Regions from separate parts of the Homo sapiens genome. Here all the other regions are linked to region 1. Evidence: promoter capture Hi-C in 16 types of primary human blood cells and fetal thymus (Javierre and others, 2016). All regions are on one chromosome and are shown on one strand. The core of a region is centred on a gene start or on the middle of the fragment in contact, and the rest is flanking DNA. Distances in the headings are between cores, read along the strand shown.

Region 1 (5,895 bases), core at 2,167-4,666:
ATCACCACTGTGGACAACACCCACTCATGACGGACCCCTCCTTCCTATCTCTGGTCATTGTCTTCCCCAGGGTAGTAGCTTTTATCAACACAAACTGTGTCCACCAAATTCCAAAAGTCTAAAGTAAAAACAACCTAGATATGAGCCCAGCTCTGCTACTGACTGACAATGTGATCTTAACTTATTTAAATTCTTTGAACCTCAGGTTCCATATCTATAAAGATGAGGATCATGAAACTACTGTTCTCAGGGGGCTATCAGAAAGATTAAATGAGATTATGGTGAAGCACTCTACCAAAAAGTGAGAGGTAGAATGGAGCAGACTTTGACTAACTCATAAATAATGGCACAGATCTCAGGCCCGTCAAAGCAATCCTACCTTGCCGATGATATGAGCAGAAGCGAAAGCTGGGAATAAAGTAAAATGAAGGGAGGAATTAGAGGAGAAATGCTTAAATTAGGTGGTAGAAGGAGGAATGCAATCAAATATTGTGGGATGGAAGAAGGTGATGGTAAGATACAGTCTCAGAAGCTTACCAAGTACTAATATTCTGCAATCCAAATGCTTTAATGAAGTGGTTAACATTTAATTTATATTTTACAAAGTATGTTTTCCTCATATTTGTGGCTAAGTTTCAGCAGAAGGGTTTTGTTATTAAGTAATACTTTTTGTCCTGCCACCCATATAAACATCTTTCATATCAGATTTCATTCCAAGGATGTTTCAAGAAACCATTCGGTTCAAACACGTTTGTGACCTCTGTTCTTCAGGCCCCAGACACACAAAGATGAAGGCCAGGTGAATTTAGGTGCATCAATCATTACTTAAAATGTGCCTCTTAATCTCAACCAACCACAGCAGGCAAAAGAGGAAGAAAGACTAAAAGCTCTACCCAAACACTAACAGTAGTTGCTTCTAAGTGACATTTTTCTGCCACATTATACTTCGGTATGCTCCAAATTTTCTACAATAATCTGGTTTGGTTTAAATAGGAACACAAAAGAGTATATCCTTGTAATGGGGACAAAAATAGGAAGATCAATAAGACCTAGTATTTGCTAGCACAACAGGGTGACTATAGTAAAAAAAAAAACAATTTAATTGTAAATTTTCAAATAACTAAAAGAGTACAATTGGATTGTTTGAAACATAAAGGATAAATGCTTTTGGTGACAGCTACCCTATGTACTCTGATGTGATTATGCATTGCATGCCTATGTCAAAATATCTCATGTAACCCATAAATATATACACCTACTAGGTACCCACAAAAATTAAAAATTAAAAAACAAGAATATATCCTTGAAGCTGGGAACTTTTACTTGCTAATAGATGGTACAGAATTTACTGCAATGAGATTCTGCTTGTATACTAATAATTTTTACTTTAAAACAGACTTTAAATACAGAGTTTATATCTCAGATATAATTTAATGCAACATCTGCTTTCTAAAGATGCAAAAATCGAGATGGTAGGATCGCTTGAGCCCAGGAGGCAGAGGTGGAGGTTGCAGTGAGCAGAGATTGCGCCACTGCCCTCCAGCCTGGGCAACAGAGCGAGACCCTGTCTCAAAAAAAAAATGCAAAAATTAAGAGTCACAGTTGAAATGATTTGTTTAAGATCACACAAATAGTAACAGTTTCAGGACTAAAGCCAATGTTCTTGATTTCTAACTCAGAGCTCCTTCCACTATGACACTGTTTGAATTATGCTTCTCTGAAGTCCACCACCAACTGGGGAGCATCTGCGGTGTATGAGGTGCTACTGGAATACAAAGATGGCTAAGAAAGAGCTATTCCCTGGACTCACGGGAGGCAGTTCAAAAAAAAAGAAGGCCGGGCGCGGTAGCTCACACCTGTAATCCCAGCACTTTGGGAGGCCGAGGCAGGCAGATCACCTGAGGTCAGGAATTCGAGACCAGCCTGGCCAACATGGTGAAATCCTGTCTCTACTAAAAACACAAAATTAGCTGGGCGTGGGGGCGCATGCCTGTAATCCCAGCTACTCGGGAGGCTGAGGCAGGAGAATCGATTGAATCCAGGAGGCGGAGGTTGCGGTGAGCCAATATCGCGCCATTGCACTCCAGCCTGGGCAACAGAAGCGAAACTCCGTCTGAAAACAAAACAAAAAAAAAACCAAAACAAAAGAAAGAAAGAAAGAAAAAAGACAAGGCCAGGCACGGTGGCTCACGCCTGTAATCCCAGCACTTTGGGAGGCCGAGGCAGGCAGATCACCTGAGGTCAGGAGTTCAAGACCACCCTGGCCAACATGGTGAAACCCCGTCTCTACTAAAAATACAAAAATCAGCCAGGCGTGGTGGCCTATGCTTGTAATCCCAGCTACTTGGGAGGCTGAGGCAGGAGAATCACTTGAACCCGGTAGGCGGAGGTTGCAGTGAACCGAGATCGAGCCACTGCAGTCGCTCCAGCCTGGGCGACAGAGCGAGACTCCGTTTCAAAAAAAATAAAAAATAAAAGACAAATTGACATGAGTTCTGCTTTCACTATTAAAAAACCTTTAGTACCTACAGGTGAAACTTAGCTTTTGATTTTTCCCCTTCTTGGAAAGAGTCTGCATTTAGTCAGCTAACATTCTAGTACCACTCACAAGCTAAAGATCTTCCGTAATTTGCAAGGGAGGCAGTAGGGGGATGAGAGTTATAAGTTAGCTAACAACCAACTATTCTTTAAAGCTTAACTGTGAACTTAACTGCAATTATGCATTTCATTGACCTTCTCTAGTGTAATACCAGCTCGTCCCTTAGAAAAGAGGAAAATACACTTACGTTTTTATTTCTAGTGGTTCTAAGAACTTGTGATTTGGCTCCAGATTCCTACATGAAAACACTGCATATATTCACCTCCTTCTCTTTTCACCGCATTCGAGTTTTTCTGTCTACTACACAAAATGATAGATAGGGCCAGGTCTGCCAGAACCCTAAATACAGCGGCATCGCCCTGCTTCCTTCCAGGGGATCTTACTATTGGAAGGGCTCTGCTACACAGTACCTCAGACATCCAGAAGAGAGTTTATCTTCCCTCCAACTTCTATATATTCTTGCCATAAGGACAGCACTACCAAAGCGGGCTCCTCCTCTCAGTTGACAGAACGGTGACTGCCTGCGAGGCTCATTCTGAGATAGGGACAAGGGAAAGGGACCGGGGCGATAAGTGAGGGTCCCAGCTTGAGGGCTGGAGTGGGCACCAGACTCCCACCAACGACTAAACCGGGGGAAGTAAAGAAACTGGCCTTCCCCGCACCCAAAAATAAAACATCACATCACTAAAAAATGTAAACGTTCGCAACATTTTCTAAAACAAAGCCACTCACCTGCAAAGGGGCCACCAGCAGCAGCAGCAGCAGCAGCAGCCGCTCCTCCGAGCCGCCAAAGAGCCAGCGCCTCCTAGGACTCATCACTGCCGCCGGCATCGACGCTCTTTTCTAGCCCCTGAACCAGACGTGGGCAGGTCCTAGGGCTCTGCCTATTGGAAAGTCGAACTGTCACTCATCCACGGTCCCGGCCTACTCCCGGAACAGGAGAGGTCTCTTCCGTTTACCAAATCCCAGGAGTAAGAAGTGGGGCTCTGATTGGTTTACTCTAGAGACGAGCACATACCTGAACCAGTAAGGAGTTGGCTTCGACGCCAGCGGGCAGGCTTGGGCCTAGGGAAGTAGAAAAACACACCCTAGAGCGTCGCTGGTGCAAAACCTCGGGTGCGGGGAGCATCTTAGCTGTTTGAGGTTCTAGAAAGCGTTTAACGTCTTAAAAGAAACACCTGCGGGTGAAGACAGGTGTCAGCGGACTCTTGGAAGAGAGGAGGTGATGTTTCTTTTACTTATGGGAAATTTAGGGATTGAAACCTGAAGACGAAGCCGAGGTATCCTCCCAGAAGAAGCTCCTTTCGCACAAATTACTCGTGGTTGAAAGTCTTAAGTCGTGATTAAAACAAATGCCTTTAAAGTGCCCAATTTATAGGCAGTAACGCAACCTTACTTTCTCTTACCGCTTTTATAGGGATTCCCCTAGGCAGTTTGCTGACAGTATTTTAGGTGGGGAAGAAAAGTGATTAATGGAATGCCCTAAAAGCTTATTGCACAGAGGAAGGGAGGCTAGAGTGGAATGAGAGAATGACAAATTTGGAGGCGACAATAACTGAACAAGAGAAATCTATGAAAACACCGGAAACCTGGCACGAGGCCTTAAAAGCTTCTAAGCAGGCTTGAACTACCACACGAGGTTTTGAAGCATATGTGTCAGAACTCTTGGGTGGGCGGGAAAGATAAGGAATGTTATGGGAGATTCCCTTCTTAGAAGCTATCCTAAGTAGTGTTTCGTGTCCTCCTGTGAGTTTTTCCTGTTTCATCCTCCTAACAAATGCATTAGGTTTGTGACACGCAAGCAAGTCCTCAGAATAAATTATACATACAGTTGAAAAGATAATCTTTCCACATTTGAAATTCTGTGACACACTCTTTATTGAACTCATTAAGACCTAATCGTAGCCAGTTCTGTATCTCATTTATCCATGTTAGAGCATGACAGTTCCTCCTGGGATATCAACAGAACTTTACTTCCGGGACGGCACTAATCCGAGGCTTGACAGGTCCCAGCAGGTGATAGGTCTCACCTAGTGATAGTTAGAATTTAACTTGCACAAGATTAACTAGAGTTCAGGCCAGAACAGCTGGAAGGGGCAGCTTCCAAATCTTATACATTTGCCCTCTTGCTTTTTTCTCAATATCAGTTGAGGACAAAGTAAGGAGAAAGCTTTTCTTCTACAGTGTAATAAAGCTCCTATTCAGAGTGCCCACCATCCATACTCCGGAGGCTAATGACAGTCATTACCAAGTGACAGTCTTGTGGCATTTGGCATTTAGGGCTACTTAGTCTGGACTTAAGGGCGCCTACTCATTGGATTTAAGTTTACTGTTGTTATGGACACCCATGGAATGCTAGCTTGTCACATAAAACCTTAATATCAAACATCACTTGCCTTTTAGAATCATTCGCAAGAGTATGTGGCTTATGAATGAGTCATTTTGATATAAGATGGAAGCTTATATCAGTGATTCTGTCTAGAAGGAATTAAAAAGCAGATTTTCATCAGGAGCAAGCATGTTTGTAAGACAAATGTGCACAGAGGCTAACAGAATTTCAGGAGTTACTTTTGCCCTATGGCAAGATTGTTCTCCATACTTAATTATGTTACAGTATCATATCCTGAACCCTGTGTCCTGGTCTATTCGATGAGCTGTCTCTCTTATGAATTTTTAAATAACGAGGTCGTGGTTCACAAAGATGATCATAAATCCATTTAAGGCAAAGATGAACTCCAAAGAATATTAGACTTGTACAAACTTAGTACTTGACAGGGCTTTGGAAATTAAACTCTAGCTCCTTGTTGTACAGATAAAGAAACTGAAGCTTAAGTGATGTGCTCAGAATTACTTGGTTGGGGACAAATCCTGGGCTAGGACCCAAGGTTGCTAATTCATATAATTCTGGGAAGATGCTTCCTCTTCCTGCTGCCTTCTCCTCCTCACCCCAAAAGCAATGTATTTTTTAAATTAAGATTAATTTTAGGATTCACTTCCATTGAAGACCAGTCATGAGGACTTCAGTTCTGATACAGCAAGTGATATAGATACTATGAAAATAATTCAGTGTCATCAAACAGCTTTTGATGTAGTCTCACTTTTATCCAAACAAGAAATGAAAAGCAATAAATTATTATAGCTATGTTGTCTCTTTGTCTTCCTTTCTGTTACAGGTGTATATCAAAAAGTCAGTATTAACCCATGTGATACTTTGAGTTTTAGTTGAAAATTGTCTTCCTTGTGACCTGAATAAACCACTATTTTATTGATAGCATACATACCTGGTCAAAATAATT
Region 2 (6,039 bases), core at 3,490-5,989, 270 kb before region 1:
AGAATGAATGCTATTGAAGTTCACCATTTTTGAATTCATAGTAACTTACTGGCCAGTAGACAGTTGACCGGTCCCCAAGATCAGCTCTAAAATTTCTGCATTCCACTGTCTGTCCACTTTCATATAAGAAGTCATTTGAGAGAAGGCAGTGTTGGTCGATGGAGATTTCAGGCTGGTAACTGAGATACTCAATCCAGAACACTATTCTGTCCCCAGCTTTCTGCAGCAATACACTCCCCATGAAGGCCACACCCCAAAGAAGAATGCCTGGGGCTCACAGCCTCAAAAAAGGATGACTTCTTAGTCAATTACTTTTATTTGATTCCCATCATTATTGGTTCTGCTAATGGCATTGTCTGAACCTGGGTCTTAATTTGGGATCCAACTTAAAAAGTTAAAAACCTCATGTAGGTTAGAAACATGCTTATCAACTATTTGGAGGCAAAATGACTCACACATACTTTCATTATTCTTTTTCATGTACCAAAACCCCCAGGGATTTTATTTCATAGCATGAAATACAAGCACATTCTCCAAACATATCCAAATAGCTCTATAAATTGCTCAAACATTCTTAGCAAAATCTCAGACCATACTGTGATCAGGAGGGAAAATCCTGAGCTACTGAAATGAGTCATATTTGCCTTGCAGATTTACTGTATGTTTGAAAGTTAAAAGAAGTTTATAGAAACATTCCAGGCTCTTAAATATGATTTTGTTTATATGTGGTGTCTGCAAAATGTTGTGGTTTCATTTAATTCACATAAAATCCAACTCTGAATTTTTTTCCTTGGATTCCTTAAAAGGCAAGCATTAAAAATTATGGAGGAAAAAAAATCAAGAAAATAAAAATATTTTTCATATCAGAATATGTTTAGACATTTATTAGTAAGTAGTCTGTAGTGAATTGGTCTGTTATTAATACAGGATAGAGTGAAAGAAAGCCCTCTTGGTTTAGAAGAAAAAAAATTTTCATGGAAAAGTGCTGTATTATTTCATTGTGGGGTTCATTGCTGTATCAGTGTTGTGCCTTTTCCTGGGGTGAGAGCATGCAAGGGGATATATTACTTGGAAGAAAGTTACTAAGGAAGCAAAGCATTTCCCACTTCATTTATTCCCCATTCTCCCACCCCATCTCCCCATACATAGACATATTTGAGAGTCACTAAAGTTTGCATACCAACCATACTTGGGCTCTCAATAATAAAACACTGTGTACTTGGAAGCTTTAGTGTTCTTATGTATGTACTCACAAGTTGTCACCACCAGCCCAACATTTGCTTTATACAATGGTGACATCCCATAATTGGATGAGTTTCTATAATTACAGACCCTAACAGGGGAAATATGCTGCAGAACAGAGTACATGGTGACATAAAATCCTCTTCTTGTGTCTACACATACCATAGCAGTCTGGTTCTTAGCATCATTATGACTGGAACATCCTGTCCAACAAATAGATCAGGTCTGGTGGGTCCTGTATGGTTAGAAGGCACCCAGGGAGTACTGAGAGTTCTGATTCTGACTCTGAGTTATAAAAGGACAGTTTTTAGAATGATCCTGCTCCAGGGCAGGCGGATCCCCAAGCGTACAGGCTCATTTCTGAATCCATGCACATATTCACAGGACATTTTAAAATGATGGATTCTAATTGTTTGGGTTTATTATTTCAAGCTAAAAAGACTTTTATCATGACTTATATTGTACCTACAAATGAATGTATGGTACATGACTACTTTGTTTTATTACTATTATTAATTTATTTACTTATTGAGACAAGTTCTCCTCTGTAACCCAGCTGGTGTGCACTCATACAATCTTGGCTCACTGCAGCCTCGACCTCCTGGGTTCATTCATGTGATCCACCCACCTCAGCCCCCTGAGTAGCTGGGACTACAGGTGTGCACCACCACATCTGGCTAATTTTTGTATTTTTTGCAGAGACAGGGTCTCCCCATGTTGCCCAGGCTGGTCTCAAACTCCTGAGCTCAAGCAATCTGCCTGCCTTGGCCTCCCAAAGTTCTGGGTTACAGGCGTGAGCCACTACGCCTAGCCATGTACATGACTACTTTAAAGAACAATCAGACACACAACCATGTGCCTACTACCCAATGTAAACAGCACCAGTTGTTAGGGATCCTTATGTGCTCCTCTTCAATCGCATCCCTATCTCTTTTTATATGCCTCCAAATAAGCACCAGCCTGAATTTTAAGATCTCTGAATTATTCTCTTGCTTTTCTTTGTAGTATTACCAGCATGGTATGCATCCCTAAACAGCATATTTTTCAGTGTTGCCTTAAATAAACTATGCATAACAATACTGCATGCATTCTGTGATTCTTTTATTTGACATGATGTTTTTGAGATTCATCTATGTTTATATCAATAGCTGTAGTTTATAACAACAGATGAGGCACAAGCTTTTCCAAACATTTCTTGAGATTATAATTTGTATGGGATAGATGTTTAACTTCTTTTTCAATTGGTGCCATTTTCTTTTAAAACATCCAGAAATGGTTTGTGATATTCAGTACAAATAAAATGAATAGAAACTGGATTTATCTTTTATTGAGTTGCTATTTTTCTCACATTTATTTTTAAAAGAAATAGTGCATCTGCCAACCCCAGTAAATATGGATTTTGGAAGGATAAGTCCATGACAGTTTCCTAAGATAAACTAAAATCTATTCATCTTGCCACAAACAGGGACAGAATTTGCACCACCCCATCTACCCCACCCTATTAAATCAATAAGCTTGCTCAGATACAAACATTCACTTTTTAATTTATAAATGTTTACAAAGAATATGTAAGGAAAGACAGGGTTGATGGTGGAGAAGATATCTATTGCTCCTGACTTAGTTACTTGAATTAAACTTTAGCTGAAATGAATGAAAAGGAGTTATGAATGCTTAAGTGGCCAGGAAGATAATTAAAATAAAATAACCAAACTCCTTCCTCTCTTTCCATCATTATTTAAGATTCAACTGGTATAAATGTGGCTAAAAAAGATAAGCCCAGTTACTACCTGGGTTTTCATGAACTTTACCTTTTCTTCATCCCCAACCTAGAATTCTTTGTTTATAACAGTCTTAAATAATGAGTAAGAATTTTAAATAGGCCTGGTGTGCTGGCTCATGCCTGTAATCCCAGCACTTTGGGATGCCAAGGTGGGTGGATCATCTGAGGTCAGGAGTTCGAGACCAGCCTGGCCAACATGGTGAAACTCCGTCTCTACTAAAAATACAAAAAGTTAGCTGGGCGTGGTGGTGCGCACCTGTAATCCCAGGTACTCAAGTGGCTGAGGCAGGAGAATCTCTTGAACCCAGGAAATGGAGGTTGTAGTAAGCTGAGACCACGCCATTGCACTCCGGCCTGGGCAACAAGAACAAAACTCCGTCTCAAAAAAATAAAAATTTTTTTTAAATAAATATGATCCTCAGTGAACTTAGGCTTTTAAAAAATGTTGTCAATCAAAAGTAAAATCTGAGTTGGAGCTGTTCTTTGACTGCTATTATCTATTAAAGGACAATTTTGCTTTAATGTGCATCGTAGATGTGGACAATAAACCTTGGGCTTAGTCGTTTAAAAAAAGTAAAACATTAGGAAACAGTTCAGACCCAGGTGTCGATGGCTGGCAGCACTATATTTTTCCAGCTCTTTCTCTTGCATAGAGGTCTAGATCTGGATATGCAACTGAATCACACCTGCTCCAGAGCAGGATGTAGGGATATTCTCACATTTCTACTGGCTAAGTTGGATGCAATGACATTTGACCACAGGTATATAAACAAGCACATTATTTTCGTATCTGAAGACAATCACCTAGAAAGAGAAATTTCCACTGTCGTCTTCAAATGTAAAAAATATGAACTCCTTTTAGATAAGTCTTATATTTAGAGTGATCTAGAAGTTCGACTCATCCCTAAATCTGAAATGTTCATGTGATGCAATACTAAAGTCCATAATCTCATGTGGTTGAGCTTCAAATTATGGTACCACTATCACATCGGTAAACATCTGACAAAAGACATAAAGCGATTGGAAAATGGAAGCAAGATGTCCTTAAATGGAGATTATAAGCCTGCGAGTAATTAAAGGGGATCCCTGCAAGGGAAAGTGGTATTGCAGACATGCCAATGGAAACGGTACACAGCATGTGGATGCCACTAAATCAAGTCACATATCTTGTGTCAGCTGAGTGAATTCTCAGCATCCTCTCTAGACAGGCTCTGCTTAATGTGGGGAAATTTATGGGTAATAGATTTTCATAACAGGCCTTTTATGATCTTTCCCTCCCCTAAAAGTGCCCTCTGGAGCTTTTCTGCTTCCACTCTCATTTTTCTTAATTGGAAAAAGATTTACTATTCATTTCCTCCTTCCCAGGGCTCCTTTCCACTCGAGTGGCATTGCCTCCCATCTTGTTCCTCCCTCTTGTACCCCTCATCTCTTCTTCAGACAGGAAACTGTAATATATGATAGATCTGACACTGGGGCATTGTTGCTAGCTCTGCTAGGGAAGAAGTCACTGCCATTCTAACAAGAATGGGGTGAACCCTACCTGCCTGACTCCAGAGGTCCTGCACACACCTATCTAACATCCAGTTGGCTCATACCCCCACTCCATGTGCTAGCATTGGAGAGCTTTGTGTACAAGTGGCAGAAAGTAAAAAGACAAACCTTGAGTGGAGACAGGAAATGGGAAATGAAGGGCCAAATCATGGATGCTTTGCCCATTGAAGAGAATATTTATTCTTGCAGGGGACTTGGCAGTCAACCACTGCTCATGGGTCCCATCTCCCTACTGTTGAGAAAAGAAGTCAAGGAGTCTTCTCTGCTCTTGATAGATCATCTTCCTAAATCAGTGGAAACCTTGCTTAACACAGGGCCTGCTCAATGTGGAGGGAGAAAAGCAAACACCCATTTGTTGTGATTTGGTAAAAAGCCAGCCTGACCAAACCAAACCAAGTAGAATCTTCTATGCTTAAAGACTCCCTTTGAGTTAATAGAAGACCCCTATAAAAATGTGAATGTTTTAACAGATAGAATAATATTAAATAACTAAGCACCCACATTTGTGTGTGCAAATTGAGTTAGAATCACCAACAGCTTAAGACTCAGGGAATCAGGACTCTGAGAGAGGGAGCATGAGCATTAGAGACATTCTACAGCACTTAAATGACTTGAGGGTTCCTGTCTCTCCTGGAACAGATTTCTATCCCAACAAGGCAATTCCATCCTAATTCATTGGTTAGATTAGTTTACTAACCAATAAGGCTTATGCTGTCTTCTGACTAGATCACCAATGTAATCATTAATTCCTTAAACTTGTTACCTAATACAGGAGGAACTGCTTCAGTGGTGAAGATCACTGACTTGACTTAAAAAAAAAGTTCATATTTCTGAATTACAAAGTGACAGCACTGGCACTGACTTATGGGTTGCTAATCTGGTATACATTCCTCTCCCTGACTGATCCACGTGGAACCTAGACTTGGAGGCAAGGACAGTTCAATTCAGAACTGTCATCAGAGTGGTGAGCTCTGGGCAGCAAGGGGGCTGCATGAAGGCCTAGGTTCCGAGGAGGAGGCATGGGGGCCTAGGTTCTGAGGAGGAGGTGGCAAACCATTGTTCAGAACCATCTGCCAGATACCAAGGTGGAGTCTGAACTTGCGGTTGTGGGATGCTGGTAGGTAATGCTTGCTGCTATAACCTGGAAATGGACACACAGGTGGCTGGAATTAGCACATCCATTCAACAGATATTTATTGAACATTTACTCCATTCAAGCCAGTGAGGGCAGAAACCAAGATAAATTCAACCCCTGAAAGGAGTTCATAATCTGTAGGGAAGTTAAGACCTGTTAAGGATGTGATAATAGGTAGAATGTGGTAAATATTACAGAAGACTTAAAGTGATTTAAAGTTTAGAGGAGGAAGAAGGCAATTCCAGCTAAGGGATCAGAGGAGGCTTCATAAAGAAAGTGGTATTCAAGCTGGCTCTTTTGGGATGGCTAGCATTGGGAGCTGGGGGAATGA
Region 3 (5,965 bases), core at 3,241-5,740, 490 kb before region 1:
AGTACCAGAGACCCTCACTTTTCTTACAGGAATTTAGTAAATTTTCTGAATAAATATGTCTTTATTTGATGTATGTCCTTAGGACAATTTTCCTAATGGTTTTTAAAACTTTAAATGGGTTTTTCTAAAAAATATTTCTACCAGGTTCCCCTCCCTGCCCACCACTGGGGAGTGGGTGAGAAGCTTCTCAGGGTGCTGTTTTAGAGCTGGATCTCTGCCCATTTTTTTTTTAAATTCAATATTAAACACTTCATTTCTTAGATTGGTTTTAGGTTCACAGGAAAATTGAGAGGAAGGTACAGAGATATCTCATGTAATTCCTACACATACCCTCAGCCGTCTAGTTTTTTTTCCTGTGTTATCTTCCAGATTTATAGTATTGCATTTTACATTTAGGTCTGTGATCCATTTTCAGTTAATTTTTGTGAAGGCAATAAGGTCTGCATCTGGATTTGTTTGTTTGTTTTTGCAGTATGTGGATGTCCAGTTGTTCCAGCACCATTTGTTGAAAGGACTATCTTTGTTTCATTGTATTGCCTTTGCTCCTTTGTTAAAGATGAGTTGACTATATTTATGTGGATCTTTTTCTTGTCTCTCTATTCTGTTCATTGATCTGTCTGTTATTTTGCCAATAACATACTGTATTGATTATTGTACCTCTATAGTAAGTCCGTTTTTAGAATTTTCTTTTTATTTATTTTTGTAGAAACAGGGTCTTGCTATGTTGCCCAGGCTGGTTTTAAGTTCCTGGCTTCAAGTGAACATCCCACCTTGGCCTCCCAAAGTGCTGGGATTACAGGCATGAGCCACCGCACTCAGTCTATAGTAAGTCTTAAAGGCATGTAGTGTCAGTCTTCTGACTTTGTTCTTCTTCAATACTGTGTTGGCTATTCTGGGTCTTTTGCCTCTCCATATGAACTTTAGAAACAGTTTGTTGATATCTACAAAATAACTGGCTGGGATTTTAATTGGGATCTATAGATCAAGTTGGAAAGAACTGACATCTTGACAATATTGAGTTTTCCTGTCTATGAACACAGACTGTCTTTCCATTTATTTAGTTATTCTTTAGTAGTTTTTTTTTCATCAGAGTTTTATAGTTTTCCTCATATAGCTCTTGACACATACTTAAGTATTTCGTTTTTATTTTTTGGTGCTAATGTCAATGGTAATGTGTTTTTAATTTCAAACTCCAATTGTTCATTGCTGGCATATAAGGAGGCAATTGACTTTTGTATATTAACCTAGTGTCTTGCAGTCTTGCTATTATCACTTATTACTCCCAGTTTTTGTTGTTGTTATTGATTTCCTTGCATTTTCTACAAAGACAGTCATGATATCTGTGAACAAATACAGTTGACCCTTGAGCTACACAGGAATTAGAGGCACCAACCCCCTCATACAGAAGAAAACTGATGTATAACTTTTGCAACCCCAACACTTAATAGCCTATTGTTGATCAGAAGCCTTACTGAAAACAAACAGCTGATAACACATATTTTGTATATGTATTACGTACTGTATTACAATAAAGTAACTAAAGAAACTATTAAGAAAATCATAAGGAAGGGCAAATATATGGAAAGAAATGTATCTCCCATGTACTTGATGTATTTATTGATACCATTAAGTTTACATTATCTGTTTATGAAATAAATTGTCTGAAATAGTGGGCAAATGCAGCTGCAGATCTCAATCTATGGTGCATATCAAGCAATTCAACTTTTTCTTTTACTGTCATGACACATTACAGTATTAGACATATCACTGAGGCAGAAAACTAACAAAGATATTCTGGAACTAAACTTGACACTTGACCAAATGGACCTAACAGACATCTACAGAACACCCCACCCAACAACAACAGAATATACATTCTTCTCATTTGCATATGGCACATACTCTAAGATCAACCGCATGCTTGGCCATAAAGCAATTCTCAGAAATTAAAGAAAAAATGAAATCATACCAACCACTCTTTCAGAATAAAGCACAATAAAAGTAGAAATCAACACCAAGATTTCTCTAAACCATACAATTACATAGAAATTAAACAATTTGCTCCTGAATTACTTATGGGTAAACAATGAAATTAAGGCAGAAATCAAGAAATTCTTTGAAACTAATGAAAACAAATATACAACATATGAGAATGTCTGGGACACAGCTAAAGCAGGATTGAGGGTAAAGTTTGTAGCACTAAATGCCAACATCCAAAAGAAAGATCTCACATTTACAATCTAACACCACACCTAGAAGAACTAGAAAAACAGGAGTGAACCGACCCCAAAGCTAGAAGAAGAAAATAAATAAGCACAATCAGAGCTGAACTGAATGAAACTGAGACACAAAAAAACATACGAAAGATCAACAAAACCAAAAGTTGGTTTTTTGAAAGAATAAATAGAATTGATAGACCACTAGCTAGACTAATGAAGAAACAGAGAAGATCCAAATAAACACAATCAGAAATAACAAAGGGGACATTACCACTGACCCCACAAAAGTATAAGAAACCCTCAGAGACAATTATGAATGACTGTATGCATACAAACTAGAAAACCTAGAAGAAATGGATAAATTCCTAGAAACATACCACCTCCCAAGATTGAACCAGGAAGAAATTGAAATCCTGAACATACTATAACAAGTTCTGAAATTGAATCAGTAATAAAAACCTACCAACCAGAAAAGGCCCTGGACCATACAGATTCATGGCTGAATTCTACCAGACATACAAAGAAAAACAGGTAGCAAACCTACTGAAACTATCCCAAAAAATCAAGGAGTGGGGACTCCTCTCTAACTCAGTCTATAAGGTCAGCATCAGCCTGATACCAAAACCTGGCAGAGGCACAATGAAAAAAAGAAAACTTCAGGTCAATATCCTTGATGAACATAGAGGAAAAAATCCTCAACAAAATACTAGCAAACCGAATCCGGCAGCACATCAAAAAGCTAATCCACCATGTTCAAGGTGGATGGAAGGTTGGTTCAACATATGCAAATCAATAAATGTGATTCATCACATAAACAGAACTATAAACAATCTTTCCTGCATCTATTGATCATCTTAATAGATGCAGAAAAGGCTTTTGATAAAATTCAGCATCCCTTCATGTTAAAAACTCTCAACAAACTAGGGATCAAGGCAACATACCTCAAAATAATAAGAGCCACCTATGATAAACCTACAGCCAACAGCATACTAAATGGGCAAAAGCTGGAAGCATTCCCTTTGAAAATGGGCACAAAACAAGGATGTCCACTTGCACCACTGCTACTCAACATAGTATTGGGAGTCCTAGCCAGAGCAACTAGGCAAGAGAAAGAAATAAAAGGCGTCCAAATAAAAAGAGATGAAGTCAAACTATCTCTCTGCAGATTATATGACTCTATACCTAGAAAACCCCATAGTCTCTGCCCAAAGGCTCCTAGATCTGCTAAGCAACTTCAGCAAAGTTTCAGGATACAAAATCAATGTACAAAAATCAATAGCATTCTTATACACCAATAATGTCCAAGCTGAGAACCAAATCAGGAATGCAATCCCATTCATAATAACCACAAGTAGATAAAAATACCTACGAATACAACTAACCAGGGACGTGAAAGATGTCTACAATGAGAATTACAAAGCACTGCTGAAAAAAATAAGAAATGACACAAATAAATGGAAAAACATTCCATGCTCATGGATAGGAAGAATCGATATTGTTAAAATGGACTTACTGCCCAAAACAATGTACAGATTCAATGTATTCTTTATCAAACTACAATATTTTTTACAGAATTAGAAAAAAAAAACTATTCTAAAATTCATGTGGATCCAAAAAAGAGCCTGAATTGCCAAAGCAATCCTAAGCAAAAAGAACAAAGCTGGAAGCATCACACTGCTTGACTTCAAACTATACTACAAGGCTATGTAACCAAAACAACATGGTACTGGTACAAAAACAGACTAATGAAACAGGTTAAAGAACCCATATATAATGTTGTACCCTACAACCATCTGATCTTTGACAAAGTCAACAATAACAAGCAATGGGGAAAGAGCACCCTATTCAATAAATGGTGCTGGAATAACTGGCTAGTCATATGCAGAAAATTGAAATTGGACCCCTTCCTTTCACCATATACAAAAATCAACTCAAGATGGATTAAAGACTTAAATGTAAAACCTAAAACTATAAAAAGCATAGAAGAAAACCTGGAAAATACCATTTTGGACATAGGCCCTGGCAAATATTTCACGTTAAAGACTACAAAAGCAATTGCAACAAAAACAAAAATTACAAGTGGGACCTAATTAAACTAAAGAGCTTCTGCACAGCAGAAGAAACTTTGAGCACAGTAAACAGCCTATAGAAGGGGAGAAAATATTTGTAAACTATGCATCTAAGAAAGGTCAAATATTAAGAATCTATAAAAAACGTAACAAGCAAAAAACAACCTCATTAAAAAAAAAAGGGCAAAGGACACGAATAGACACTTCTCAAGAGAAGACATACACATGGCCAACAAGCATATGAAAAAATTCTCAACATCACTAATGATTAGATAAATGCAAATCAAAATCACAATGAGATACCATCTCACAACAGTCAGAATGGCTATTGTTAAAGTAAAAAAAAACTAGTGAGGTTGCAGAGGAAAGGGAATGCTTACACACTGTTGGCAGGAATGTACATTAGTTCAGTCACTTTGGAAAGTGGTTTGGGGATTTATCAAAGAACTTAAAACACAACTATCATCTGACCCAGCAATCCCATTATGCAGTATATATCCAAAGGAATATAAATTGTTCTACCATAAAGACACATGCATGTGTATGTTCACTGTAGCACTATTCACAGTAGCAAAGACATAGAATTAACCTAGATGACCATCAATGGTGGACTGAATAAAGAAAATGTGGTACACATATACCATAGAATACTATGCAGCCATATAAAAGAATGAAATAGTGTCCTTTACAGCAACATGGGTGAAGCTGGAGGTCATTATCCTAAGCAAATTAATGCAGGAACAGAAAACCAAATGCCACAAGTTCTCACTTATAAGTGGGAACTAAACATTAGGTACACATGGACACAATGAAGGGAACAATAGACACTAGGGCCTACTTGAGGGTGAAGGGTGGGAGGAGGGTGAGGATCGAAAATCTACCTATTGTGTATTATGCTTATTACATGAATGATGAAATAATCTGTACACCAAATGCCCACAACATGCAATTTACCCATGTAACAAACCTTTATTATTTTGTCTTCCACTTGTTTTCTACCTCCTTCTATTTTAATTGAATATTTTGTATGATTTGATTTTTTTCCTATTTTAGTATATCAATTCTACCTCTTTTTTACCCTTGAATTTACAGGATACATTTACAATGAATCCAATCCTTTCTCAAATAACCCTATACCACTTGCTTCTTTGGTAGTACAAGTATTTTGTAACAGGGTATTCCCAATTCCTCCCTCCGATTCCTTACAACATTGCTGCTATTCATTTCACTTATCAATAAGCTATAATTTCTGAATACACTGTTATTGTTTTGAACAAACTATTATCTGTTAGGTAATTAAGAAAAATAAAAGATTTTATTTTACCTTCATTTATTCCTTTTCTATTGCTTTCCCTTTGTTTACGTAGGCCAGAATTTCTGACCTGTATAATTTTCATCCTTTCTAAAGAATTTCTTTTAACATTAAAAAAAAGAGCAGCTCTAGAGATGACAAATTCCCACAATTTTTGTTTGTCTGAAAAAGTCCATTTCTCTTTCACTTTTGGAGGACAATTTCACTGGATACAGAACTGTAGTCAGCGGTTGTTATGGTCTGATGTTGCATCCCCCAAATTTCATATGTTGCAATCCTAACCCCTAGTGTGATCGTATTAGAAGACAGGACCTTTGGGTGGTAATTAGGTCATGAGGGTGAAGCCCTCATGAATGAGATTAGTG
Region 4 (5,818 bases), core at 2,911-5,410, 350 kb before region 1:
GTAAGAGGCTACTTTATCCCATTTTATGCTTCATTTTCAAAACTGCTTTTTAAAAACGTTATTTTAGTTCTTTAGCCTTTCCATATAAATTTTAGAATAATTTTGTCTACATCTACAAAAAGAAATCCTGATAGGAATTTCTTGAAACCTATATGTCAACTGGGGAGAGTTGACATCTTACCACATTGAGCTGAGTCCTAATCATGAACATGGTATATTTCTTGATTTATTTAGATCTTCTTTTATTTACTTCATCAACATTGTGTAGTTTTAAGAATGCAAGTCTTATACATGTTTTGTTAGATTTACACCTAAGTAATTTTTAAAAAGTAATTATAACAGTAATGTTCTATATTGTGGTATGCGTTTAGATTACACAAATGTATGCATTTGTTAAATTTGTTAAAATTCATTGATACAATTAGAGTTGTGAATTTCATCTTTTGTAAAATGTACCTCAAAACTAAAAAGGAATTCTAGGTAACAATATAAATGCTAAAGTATTTACAGGTGAAATGTAAGGATATCTGCAACTTACTTTTAAATGAATAAAAAACTAAAAGGACTTAATTGGATAAAGAGAGGGATGGATAGATGGCTACATATGTGATAAAGCAATATAGTAAATTATTGATTGTAAGAATCTAGTTGATGGCCATATGGGTTCCTGTACGATCCTTTCAATTTCTCTGCATATTTGAAAACATTCTTAATAAAATACTGGGAAGTAAGAAGTTAATACAGAGCAAGAGGTTAAATAAAGAACAAAATAAATCTAAATAAATCCGATTTATAAAAAAAATTTATATTATTAGAATACAGCACAAAACTAGAACTAATAAATAATTTCAAGCACTGATTCTTTGAAAAAATTAACAAGATAAAGCCTACCAACATACTCAGGGGAGAAAAATAAGAATGCAAAAACACAATGTAAAGTATTAGGACAAAGGAAAAAAATCTCCTATCTTTAAAGGAAATTTTAGCAATTATAGGAGAATGCTTTGCTTAAATTTATTAAATGAATTTTAAAATCCTGCATGAAAAGCATTTTTCTAGGAAAATAACCAAAACTGTCCCTGGAACAGAATATATAGGAAACTTAGATGTAACAAAGAAGAAACTGAGAAGTTTTATAATAACAATATTCTCTGTCTCTCTAAAACAGTAACAAAATATGCACAGTTTTAGAAGATTTCTCTCGAAATTATAAAGAACATTAATTAAAACATTATTGAAACTGCTCTAAAGCAAAGAATTCTAAATAACGTTTATACCAAAACCTGATAAATGTACATGAGCTAGAAAATTTTTAAAAATCTATCTTATTTATGAATATTAAAGCAAAAATCCTGCATAAAATGAGAAAACAGGATTCAGCAACCCACTAAAAATTATCCACAATGACTAACTGCACTTTATTTCAATACTATACAACTGGTTCAATATTAAAAAACTAATATAACTCACCAACATAATAGGTCAAATGAGAAGAATATCATAATCCCTCTACCCCATAGATGTTAAAAAGGCATTTAATAAAGTTTAGTAATAATTTCTGGTAAAGTTTTCTTAATAATATAAGAACAAATTGGTAACTCCTTAGCAGAATCAAAAAAATTTATTTTAAACCAGAAGCCAATAATTTGCTTAATGAGAAAACAGTAATACTAGTCCCATTAAAATGAAGAATAAGATAAAGGCAACATTATTAAATATTTTTTGACAGTACCAGTAAATGCATTTAGTACAAAAAAGAAATATAAGGTATAAAAACTGAAAATTAGGAGATATAATTACATTAATACAGGATAACTGTATAATTGGAACATATATAATAATTTAAATATTAGAAACAAAGTATGGCAATTTTCAAAAGTAATACACACAAAAATAACTTTCCTGTATGTAAACAAGTTAGAAAATATAAAATAGTAAATATTCTATTTGAAATTGCTATTCTCACAACAAAAATATTTAGTTTTAGCAACAAAATAAAATACCTAACAATAAACTTAGAAACGGTGCAGAAAAAAAAAAATTAAAACTATAATAAAGGAGATAAAGGAAAACTAGGATAAATGGTGAAACAAATCTTATTATTGGACAGGAAGGTGCAATTTTAAAAGTATGTTACTCTTCCTTAAGTTAATCTATAAATTAATGTGATCACAATAAAGTTACCAGTTTATTTATTTTAGGACAACTAGGAAAGCTTATTTTAGATTCCATATAGAGACATAATAAGGCAAACGTAGCCAGAAAAATCTTGAACACAGTAAAACAGTAAGGAACTAAGTTTATCACACAACAGAATTATACTTTAAAAGCTATAGTAATAGAGTTTCATGCTGGCATATCAAAAGACAGATTAATGGAACAGAATTCAAAATTGGACCTAAAAGCTTAGTATATCATAAATGTGGCATTGTAAGTGGGTAGAAAAAGATAATTCATTTAATAAATTTTGTTGGAACAACTCACCAGGCATTTAATAATAGGACTGGATTGGAAGTTTACTTCTTATATCAAAATGGATTCCTGATGGATCAAAAATTTAATCACAAAAAATACACTTGGACACTACTAAGAAGTATGAAAATTTCAAAACCCCAGAAATCATTTAAAAATGATAGACAAAGTAACTACATAAAAATTACAAATTTATGCATGACAAAGACAAAAAGGCAAATGAAAAACTGAGAAAAATAGCATGTAACATATAAGACACAGTAATCAAATCTCCTGCATAGGCAGAAAGCACTTAGAGATCGAGAAGAAAAAAAGTCTAATCAATAGCAAAATGGGCAAAGGATTTCATCAGGTAGCTTATATAAAGTCAGTAGATAAAATGTTCCAATCTCATCCATAAAGAATACATGAACAAAAAACACATATCAAGTAAACAATATCAGATTGTCAAAAACCAGAATGAGTGATTAACAGTATTGATGAGAGTATGGGAAAATAGGTACTCTCATTGTGCAGCACTCAGATGGCCTAGGTTGTCCAAACCCTGTATATCCAAAGAAAGATTTGGACCTTGTCCAACTCCTGGGAGATAACCTCTAAGACCCTGAAATATTCTGCCTGTTCAGAGTTTCTTTGTCTACTTGGGGCCTTGGGCTACATCAGATAGTTTATGCTAATAATGTGAGTTGTGGTGGGGGGCTCTGGGCCACATTATATTAATTTTGGATGGAGAGGCGGGGGACTGAATAACTAAAGCCAGCCACGTGGGCATTCCATACAGACATAACTGGTCCCTAATAGAAACTCTGGACACCGAGGCTGGATGAGCTTCCCTGATTAGCAGTACTTCATGAGTGTTATCTCACATCATGACTGGAGGAAGTAAGTGCTGTCTATAAAACTCCACCAGGAGAGGACAACTGGAAGCCCCCATCTAGTCTCTCCTGGACTCTGCCCTAAATTAATTCAGCTGATTTTAGTCTGTATCATTTCACTGTAACAAGCCATAACCATTAATGTCATGGTTTTTCTGAATTTCTCGAGTCCTTTTAATGAATCATTGAACCTTGGGGTGGTCTTCAGGACTCCTGATCACAGGTGACATCAGAAGTGGGATTCACTAGAATTACCCTGACTCACTGAAATGTGGTGAAAGAGTGGTTTGGGAAAAGGAAGGGTAAGAGGGTAGGAGTTGACAAACCTTTGATTCTGTTTGGCCACTGGGCCACCCATGGTGTGAAGTAGCAGCTGTGTTGCAATCAGTTACTAGAAGTAAAAGTCACCACTGGAATTTAGAAATGATAAATCTAACTCCCAAAGAGTTGGCTCACTGGATGCATAAGGAAATGCAAAATGACAAGAAACAAGCTAAACATACAATCTCTCAGTTATTATGTGTAATAGCTAAAATTACAGTAAAGTGTTGAGGCAAATCCTGACACTGGGCCAAGCTTGAATTTCAGCTGGTCCAAGCTACAGACACTAGCTTCAGGGTTTCCAACAAAGGGACAAATAACATGCTGAAAAAACTGAGAGCTAAAATAACATGAGTCATGAAAGAATAGGGAAAGACAAAAGGAAGAATCAAGGGACTCATCCCAGCAGGTTGGACACTGATGGGATCAAAGGTCTTAATGAAACACTATTGGAGATTACATAGACCAATGGGAGCTCCTGGCATACCCCGACTTTGAAGAGCTTTAAACAAATCTGTTCTATTTACCTTAGTCTGGAGGAATTAACAAAGCTGAAAGGCAAAAAGGACAATAAAAAATGTTACCTCAAATCATCTGTGGCAATTGTCTCACAAACTAATATGGATAGACTGATGAAAAGGGTCAGGGTCCTTTAGTCTGATCCTTGTTTGGGGACATGGGCTATATGCACGTGTGGTTAAAATGGAAAGGGGGTGGAGAACAAGCTTTTCTGGGACTCTTTGACATGGCAGACCAATGCACTGAGGTTCCAAAATCTGTTGGTGATATCCTAATGTGGACTACAGTTAGGTTGGGAGGACTTAGCCATGAAATGGTTGATGAAATTAAGGTGAAAGTTGAGATTAAAACGGAAATATTTAAATGGACTTCATGTGAACTGGATGTATCTCCTTTACCTGAATGTATTGGGATGGATTTTATATCTGATTGGGGAACACTTCCCTACCTAATATTGTAAAACTGAAGGCATGTAAATTTGCCCTTTATCCAGTATACTGGCTAAATGGGAACCTATAGAATTGTCCAAGCCGACAGATTTTAGTTGGAAATAGTATAGAATACCTGGTGCACAAAAATAGAGTACACCTTTAATCAATGACGTGTTAGAAACTGGGCTGCTGGCACCGACACATTTTCTCTACAGTAGCCCTGTATGGGCCAGAGATTGGGGCTTATGGAAAAAGCCTGTGAGCACCATCCAGCAGTGACTGCCGGAATTTGGACCAGAAATTGTTCGGATGCAGCTGTAAGATATACAGCATTTGAGAACCAATTACTAACTTGCTATTGGACATTAGTTGAAAATGCCCCTGTGACTGAATGTATTAGTCAGGGTTCTTCAGAAAAAATAGAACCAGTAGTGTGTGTGTATTTATTATATCAGTGAATATACACATATGCGTATATACATTGTCACAAATTATGGAGACTGAGAAGTCTCACAATCTGCTGTGTGCAAGCTGTAGTACTCGGAAAGCTGGTGGTGTAATCCAGTCCAAGTCCAAAAGCCTGAGAACTAGAAGCTCTGATGTCTGGGGCAGATGATGAATATCCCAGTTCAAGAAGAGAGCTCTCACCCTTCCTCCATCCTTTTGTTCTATTCAAGCAGGCCCTCAATAGATTGGATGATGCCCCACCTCCTTATATTGGTGATGGTGGATCTTCTTTACTGAATCTACCAATTCAAATGCTAATCTATTCCAGAAACACCCTCAGAGGCACATCCAGAAATAATGTTTTACCAGCTATCTGGGCATCCCGTGGCCCAGTCAAGCTGACACATAAAATTAACCATTATACTGAAGGACATATAACCGTGAAAGCTGAAATGCCCACAATGCCTTAAGTGATGTGAAAGAAACACTCTAATAAGGCAGTGCCCAGAAGGGCTCCATAATAAATGGAAACGGTTTATACAGGACAATGTTACTGGGACAGTGCAAGGAGATACTCATTCTGTTCATGTGCAGGAGGTCTCTTTTCCACTGGAGCCTACTTTGAAATCAGCTGAGGAGCCACCAAATCCTATGGCCACCTGGGCTGTGCCCTATGAACAGCTCTCTATTGAAAGAGAGCTACTAGGTTGACTGATGGCAGTTCCAAGGTGGATAATCAACATCCTGTTTGGA

What was found. The method cuts DNA at HindIII sites, captures the fragments that hold promoters and counts their contacts. A CHiCAGO score of 5 or more calls a contact.
Region 2: a fragment that was not itself captured here is called in contact with the fragment with the promoter of BPGM in region 1 in 1 of 17 cell types (naive CD4 T cells); the score reaches 5.9 in naive CD4 T cells.
Region 3: a fragment that was not itself captured here is called in contact with the fragment with the promoter of BPGM in region 1 in 8 of 17 cell types (total CD4 T cells, naive CD8 T cells, activated CD4 T cells and 5 more); the score reaches 9.6 in total CD4 T cells.
Region 4: a fragment that was not itself captured here is called in contact with the fragment with the promoter of BPGM in region 1 in 3 of 17 cell types (total CD8 T cells, naive CD4 T cells and naive CD8 T cells); the score reaches 7.2 in total CD8 T cells.

Annotation. Positions count from the first base shown.
Region 1 is chr7:134,644,374-134,650,268 of GRCh38, reverse strand. BPGM (bisphosphoglycerate mutase) reads right to left here and starts at 3,416. Exons shown (of 3, transcript NM_001724.5): 1 at 3,332-3,416. All of the region lies in intron 1 of LOC124901750 (a long non-coding RNA gene), which reads left to right. RefSeq lists a silencer at 1-72 and enhancers at 3,080-3,189, 3,290-3,439. The HindIII fragment of the contact is 1,395 bases long and covers 2,696-4,090 here.
Region 2 is chr7:134,914,731-134,920,769 of GRCh38, reverse strand. The region is part of intron 3 of CALD1 (caldesmon 1); the gene reads right to left. Among named protein-coding and RNA genes, the nearest start is that of AGBL3, 69 kb to the left of the region's middle. The HindIII fragment of the contact is 3,962 bases long and covers 2,759-6,039 here.
Region 3 is chr7:135,137,921-135,143,885 of GRCh38, reverse strand. It overlaps a transcript of CYREN not described here. Among named protein-coding and RNA genes, the nearest start is that of TMEM140, 7.2 kb to the left of the region's middle. The HindIII fragment of the contact is 8,610 bases long and covers 186-5,965 here.
Region 4 is chr7:134,999,881-135,005,698 of GRCh38, reverse strand. The region is part of intron 4 of AGBL3 (AGBL carboxypeptidase 3); the gene reads right to left. Among named protein-coding and RNA genes, the nearest start is that of AGBL3, 16 kb to the right of the region's middle. The HindIII fragment of the contact is 470 bases long and covers 3,926-4,395 here.